Regions from separate parts of the Homo sapiens genome. Here region 2 is linked to region 1. Evidence: promoter capture Hi-C in 16 types of primary human blood cells and fetal thymus (Javierre and others, 2016). All regions are on one chromosome and are shown on one strand. The core of a region is centred on a gene start or on the middle of the fragment in contact, and the rest is flanking DNA. Distances in the headings are between cores, read along the strand shown.

Region 1 (3,374 bases), core at 405-2,904:
AATTTAAAAAGCATGTTTTCTTTTACAATTTGTATTGTATTTATACAGTGGCATTTTAGTACTTGCATGTGGTTATATATATTTTAACTAAGCATGCCACTTTATTAATTTCTTTTCCAGAAATAAGACTATAACCCCTGTCTTCTTAGTACCACAATGAGCTATCATCATTACACTAAGGTGGTTCTGAAATGCTAACAGTGTAGTCTTTTTTTTTTAAGTCTTTTGTTGATTTTTTTTAATTTTTTTTTTTTTTTTGAGACGGAGCTTCGCTCTTGTCACCCAGGCTGGAGTGCAATGGCGCAATCTCAGCTCACTGCAACCTCGGCCTCCCGGGTTCAAGCGATTCTCCTGCCTCAGCCTCCCGAGTAGCTGCAATTACAGGCATGCACCACCATGCCCAGCTAATTTTTTTTTTTTTTTTTTAGTAGAAACAGGGTTTCACCATGTTTGCCAGGCTGGTCTTGAACTCCTCAGGTGATCCACCCGCCTCGGCCTCCCAAAGTGCTGGGATTACAGGCGTGAGCCACTGCGCCCGGCCTTTTGTTGATTTTAATAGATACATGGAATATTCTACCATTAAGCAAAATTGTGTAATTCTATTTCACGGAACTTTGGAAGACAGAGGAATTGGCTGTCTCTTTTTTAGGACACTTATTCTCTCCCTGAAAAGCAACTGCACTTTTTTGACATTTGTCATCTGCATAGAGTTCACAGGCCCTCCACACCTCTACCTTCAAATCTCAGTTTTACTTTCACCTCCGATCTTTCCAGGCTTCCCTCTCTCCCCGCATCAATCAGTAGATATTATTCCTCTTTTTCCACAGGATATCTAAGTCTTAATTTTCTCTTCTACTTCCTGACCAGCCCGTTATTATTATTGCCAACACTTTCTTGCCCGGGAAACTTCCAGAGTGGCTCCTCCGACCCATCCCCATCCTGAGCGGGGAAATCTTGCTACATTCTCAAGAACCAGGAAAAGGGCCCTGCAAAAGGGTAAGTAAGATGGAGGCGGTGTTGCCTAGTGGTGAGACAGCCTGGGAGCAGGGGAGTGTGTATGCAGGTTGGTCTTTGACTCAATGTAGTACAATCTCAGTCTTCATCTCAGCCACAGTCGGCCTAAGAAGGTAGGCCACCCCAGCCCTCCCGAGGCCGCGGGCAGGGTGCGGAGGTCAGACTTCCAGGGAAGGCCAAGGGGCGCTTTAAGCAGTGAGAAGGCCACGGCCAGGAGGTGGACGCAGAAAAAACTTGCACCCTGGCTCAGATTCTTCCCGTGTGACCCAAATCTCCACTCGTGGCCCGTGCCCTGCTGCTAGACGCCCTGACCTCCGCGCCCGGAGGCCTTGCTCCCCGCCTGTGCCCAGGCCAGGCCTGGGACTCCATTGCTGCATCCCGCTCACCTCCAGACTGCAGTCGCCGCCGCCGTTAGGCCGTAGCTCCGAAGGCGGGCTCCGGGCTCCTCCAACCTGGGGGCCGAGCCAGGGCCCCGGACGGGGGCTCGCGCCGGACCGGCCGGGTCCCCGGCGGTGCGGGCGGGGTGGGAACCCCGGGGGATCCCGGGAGGGGAGGGGGTCCCGGGCCGGGGCCGGGGGTGGGGTCTGGCACCGGAGCTTTCAGTTTGTTCCGCTGTTTGAAATTGGCGCCGGCGGAGCGTTAAGGTCACGTGACGGAACGTCGCCAATCGGCGCCGGCCTTGTCTCGGCATTCCGGGCTCGAAGGCTGTGCGGTCTGCCAGGAGCTGCGGCCCCGTCCGGCCCGGGCTGGTAAGGCGGACCGCAGGCCGGCTTGTGGGGGAAGAAGTGGCCGTGGGGCCGGGGAGGGGCCGGAGGGGTCCCCGCCGCGTGGGTGGGCGAGCCGAGGGAGAGTTTGGGGACGCGCGGAAGCGGCGTGACAGGCCCGGGTCCCTGGGCCCGCTTTTCCTGCCGCGCTGGTCACGCCAGGCGACACGCCCCCGCTTCCCCTCAGGCTCCTCTGCTCCCCTTTTCAAAGCTCGGCTTTAGTTGATTTCCTCACTGGGGGAAATCGTACCCCATTTTCCCACAGTGAACGATCGTCTGCTCCCCCCGATTAGACTAAGTTCCTTTGAGGGCTGCGTATTATCTCCGCTTTCTTCCATCTTGAAAAAAAATGTCGGCACCATGAACCCTACCTCAGCGCGAAACCTGTCTTTTGCCCCTCCCGAAGCCAAGCCTTCGGATATAATAGACCGTAGTGCTTTATTTATTGACTTAGTCAACCAGTCTAGTTGAGCAACTGCTGTGCGCCAGGCACCGCTAGGCCCTGAAGATACAATGGCAGACAAGGTTCTTTCCTTCCCCTGGGCTCACAGCCCAATCCTGGAAGAGGGGCACAGACATTTTAATCAAATAAACAAATGTGGGCTGGGCATAGTGGCTCACGCCTGTAATCCCAGCACTTTAGGAGGCCGAGGCGGGTGGATCACTTGAGGTCACGAGTTCGAGACCAGCCTGGCAACATAGCGAAACCGCTTCTCTACTAAAAATTAGCCGGGCGTGGTGGTGCGTGCCTGTAGTCCCAGCTACTCTGGAGGCTGAGGTGGAAGGATCACCTGAGGCCGAGAGGTGGAGGCTATGGTAAGCCATGATCACACCACTGCACTCCAGCCTGGGCGACAGAGGGAGACACCGTCTCCAAAACAAACAAATGTTGAATTATTGCTGTAAATTGAAACATTAGAGGTTAATGATACTTTGAGTATTTACAATAACGAGATCTTGAGAGGTAGGACAGGAAAGGCTTTTGTAATGAGAGCTTGGTGTGAGATCTGATGCCTTTTACAAAGAAAGGAGGGAACTCCTCTAAGCAGAGGGAATCAGGCGTGCAAAGGCTGGATGGCAGGAGGAAGCACAGTGAGTACAAAGGCTGAGAAATATCTGAGGGGTTTGAGCTAATCGACCTGAATGGAGTGTGGTGTGAGTTGAAGCTGGAGCCGGAGGAAGCAGAGCCTTAGCCATACCGAGAAGTTTTGTGCTTATCCAAGAATTAAAGGAAACCAGTCATAAGCTTTAAGCAGAAGTGAATCCAGGTCAGATTTGCATTTTAAAAGGTCCCTCTATAGCGGGGATTGCTAGAGTGGATTAGGGCAGAACAGTTGGATGTTGCAATACTCCAGGCAAGAACTGCTGGAGCTTGAAAAAGGGTGGCAGGGAGAGAGAGAGAGGAAGAGAAAGAAGGAGACAGAGAGAGTAAAAAAGGGGCATTAAGAAAACATGTTTAAGAGGTAAAGTTGACAGGGCTTGATGGTGGGTTGGATGGGAGGTAGAAGTGTCAAGATTTTCAGCTGCATAACTGAAGGAATAATGACACTATTCCCTGACCAAGGGCCCTGGAAGATAATCACTTTGGCCAAGGGA
Region 2 (3,374 bases), core at 300-2,799, 82 kb after region 1:
AGGCGTGAGCCACCGGGCCCCCCATGATTGCTGAATTAAATAGTTGGTGCTTAGTGTGTACTTCACGTGGCGCTGATATGCTGCCTTGCGTTTTGGTCTTTTCATGTGCATGAGGTGTGACCAAGCCTTGATATGATTCATTATTTAACAAGAATACCACAATTCATCTATTCAAATGAGGGCTGCGTCTTCAACGCCTTCACCTTGCAGGACTGGATGCTTAGCTCAGTCATTGCTTGAAACACTTTTGGAATACCTCTCTTGGAAACAACTTTGGCATCGATAGCACTTTCCTTTCAATATCTTCCACGGTAGCAATTGTTTTTCATTTATGCAGCATTTATCATGCACTTCCCTATCCCAGGCACCAGGCTGGATCTGTGTGAAAGATAAGATAAATCAGACATTACTCTGTCTTCAAGGAAGTTTCTGTTTGGCAAGGGAGATAAGATCTAGACAACCACCCAACACAAGGCTAAGTGATAATGCCCCAGAAAAGGTTGGATTTGATTTTTGGAAAAAGCCAAAAGTCCTTTGGTTTCAGTCTCCTGGCCAGGTAGATGATGGCGCTACCTGCCAGCACACTGCTTTAAGCCCGTTTGTCCTAAGCGTCTCCAAACAAGGAGCCCAGCGTGTTTCCAGCACCTCCTGCCCCAATAAGAGACTCCTGGGCATGTGTGTCTGAAGTCCAGACTCTCACCGATGGCAGTATACACCGAGGCCTCCCCAGCTAAACTCTGAGCTCTTTGAGGGCAGGTGCTGACGGCTGATCCTGATCTTCACAGTATCTGGACTCATCACACATCTTAGATGAATATTCATTGAGTCACTGAGCCCAGAAGGCGTCCCATGGCATGCCACATGGACTTCAAACCGAGTGCCCTTTCTCCCATGTGGTTTACTCGTAGTGGCGGTTTTACAGATGCCCAAGGGGCAGGAGAGAAAAACGGAAAGAGCTAAAGCCGGGGAGGGCAAGCGAGGGGGCACTGGCAGCGGATCTGGGAATGGAGCCCGCGAGTTCCTGCTTCCTGGTTCCCCGGAGCAAGTGTCCTTTGGTGGGAGCCGCAGGAAGGGAGCAGCCCTTCCTGCGCGCCGGGAGCCCGCCCCTTCCCCGGCCTCCCAGGGACTCGTGCGGAGGGACGCCGGGTGGCGGGGCGGGAGTCTGGGCCCCGTCCACCCCCCCGCCCCCGGGACAGCCCCACCCCGGCGAAGAGGAAGGCTCTCGGCTCCTGGGAAAGGGAGTCGGGACCCCGCCAGGAGGGGAGGGCGCGGGGCGCGCAACGAGCAGCCAAACAGTCGGAGCGGAGAGATCGAAGGGCTAGTGGGCGTGGGGGCCGCAGCCGAGGCCCGGGTGGAGGGGTCCCCGCCGTCCCTCGGCCCCCTCCCCCGCCGCCCGCCCCGGCCCGGCCCGGCCCCGCCCCGCCCCGGCGGCCCGGCCCCTCGCCCGCCCGCGCGCGGCGCAGTCTCCTCCCCGAGGTGCCGGTGGCCCCGCCGCCACTCCCTCCGGCTCCCTCCCTCCCGCCGCGGCGCGCATCTCATTCCAGCCCTCATTCCGCGCATTCCAGCGTCCTCCTCGCACACTCGAGGCCAGGGGGCGGGAGGGCCGCAGCTCCGGCGCCGCCGCGTCCCGCCAGGTGAGAGGCGCCCGCGCCCGCCGCACCCGCCGGCGCCCTCACGGGCCGCGCGCCCCACGCCGCCGCAGCCGACCGCTCGCGCCGCGTGCTCGGCTGCTCTTTTCTTTCCGCCGCCCGCGTTCCCGCCTTGGACCTCTGCGCTCCGACGCGCTCCGTCCCGACCTCTGGCTTCCCTCCGCGCTCCGGCGCTGCTCGCTGCCCCTCTCCCGCTTCCCTCCTGTCCGCCCCGCGCTCCCCTCCTCGCTCCCGGTTGACTCACTCCTCCAGGAATAGGGATCCCCGTGTTTTCCCGTCAGTCCCATTCTGGGAAAACTCCTCCCTCCGCGCGCTCCGCTCCGCTCCGCTGGGCGCACCGGGGCCGGTCGGCGCGGGGTGGGCTTGGCCCCGCGGCCCCGCCTTCACTGCGCCGCCCGTCGGCCCCGGCCGGAGCCCGGCTCTGCGCGCTGACGCCCTGTCGTCCCCGCAGAACGATCGCCGCGGCCGGAAGAGTTGGCGCTCGGGGCGGACTCCTTGGAACTGGCTTAGCGCACCCATCCCACCTTCCCGCACCCTGGGACCGGTAAGGCTGGGGCGCGGGGACTTGGTAGGACTTTGCCGGAGGGCAGGAGTCTGCGCGGTGCGTGCGGAGCTCCCTCCCGGGACGAGACTGGGAAGAGCGAGGCACGTGGAGGCGGCGCGACTGAGGCTGCTGGAGGCGAAGCGGCTCCAGGGGCGGGTAAGGGGGGTGGACACTCGGGACTTTGGGGGAAAGGGAGGCCGGTGTGGAAAGGACCGGAGAGGCAGAACCGAGAGCATCGGCAACAGAAGAGACCCAGCACCCATGCCTCTTTTCTGCTGGGCCCTTTTCGAGCCTGGAAGGGAGAGACCTGGAGGTAAGCGGACTGCCTGTTTTAAGTGCAAAGGCGATGCGAAAGTCGGGGGACCCCTGCAAAAGGTCCTACACCTCAGGGCTTGGGAAGCTGCTGTGTTTCCTGATGGGGACTAGTGGATCGATCCAGGGAGCAGAACTTTCAAACCCCAAAGTGAACATTTCCCCCGTTGTGCTGAGGCACTTGAGGCCCCGCGGACTGACTGCGTCTGTGCTGAGTCTGTGTGACACCTGACTGCGAGTCCCCCTCGCTTTGAGTCTCTGTGTGGGTGATGTCTGTTCACGTGTGGCTCACCTTGGCTTCCAGTGGGCGTATTTGTTTGTGTTGAACGTGAGTGACAGAGTGTGTGTATATGTCTGCGTGAGAAGGGGCTGTCTGAAAGTGAGTATCTCTGAGTAGGTGTGTGATGCCACGTCTCTTGAGTATGTGTTTCTCTTCGAGGATGTTGGTTCTGGCTAGGACTGTTCTTCCTCCCTACATAGCCGTGGGCAAGAGTCAGTGTCTCTGGTTGCCTGAGTGCAGGGATAATTTGACTGTGGTTTTGGAGTGTGTGGCCTCCAGGCTCCGTTTCCCCTGGACCGGGCAGAGCTGGAAGGAAGCTGGCTCCACCTGCCTCTTGGAGCCAGGAGGCTGACTTTCTCAGGGCGAGGGTCTTGTGCTTGCCTGGAATAGGTCAAAAAGCTGGTAGGAGGCTGAAGGAAGTTGAGATCTTTGCCTTTGGGGGATGGGATGGGCGGGTGAGATTTGGGAAGGTTTGTCGGGGTGGATCCCCGGGAAAAGGAGACAGTTTTGAATCTGGAGACTTGTGTAAATAGTGCTTTTAAGTTGCCCTCAAGGACAAACAGGGAGGTATACCAGCCTGAACTACTTT

Evidence for each region. Contacts are between HindIII fragments. The CHiCAGO score rates a contact against its expected background, and 5 or more counts as called.
Region 2: the fragment with the promoter of TEAD4 here is called in contact with the fragment with the promoter of FOXM1 in region 1 in 1 of 17 cell types (endothelial precursors); the score reaches 5.5 in endothelial precursors.

Annotation. Positions count from the first base shown.
Region 1 is chr12:2,875,520-2,878,893 of GRCh38, forward strand. It overlaps FOXM1 (forkhead box M1), which reads right to left and starts at 1,655. Exons shown (of 9, transcript NM_021953.4): 1 at 1,401-1,655. It overlaps RHNO1 (RAD9-HUS1-RAD1 interacting nuclear orphan 1), which reads left to right and starts at 1,704. Exons shown (of 3, transcript NM_001252499.3): 1 at 1,704-1,763. RefSeq lists silencers at 1,411-1,480, 1,521-1,960. The HindIII fragment of the contact is 3,757 bases long and covers 1-3,022 here.
Region 2 is chr12:2,957,848-2,961,221 of GRCh38, forward strand. TEAD4 (TEA domain transcription factor 4) reads left to right here and starts at 1,550. Exons shown (of 13, transcript NM_003213.4): 1 at 1,550-1,634; 2 at 2,101-2,193. LOC124902859 (a long non-coding RNA gene) reads right to left here and starts at 2,201. Exons shown (of 2, transcript XR_007063159.1): 1 at 1,894-2,201; 2 at 1-378. RefSeq lists an enhancer at 1,720-2,455. The HindIII fragment of the contact is 21,466 bases long and covers 1-3,374 here.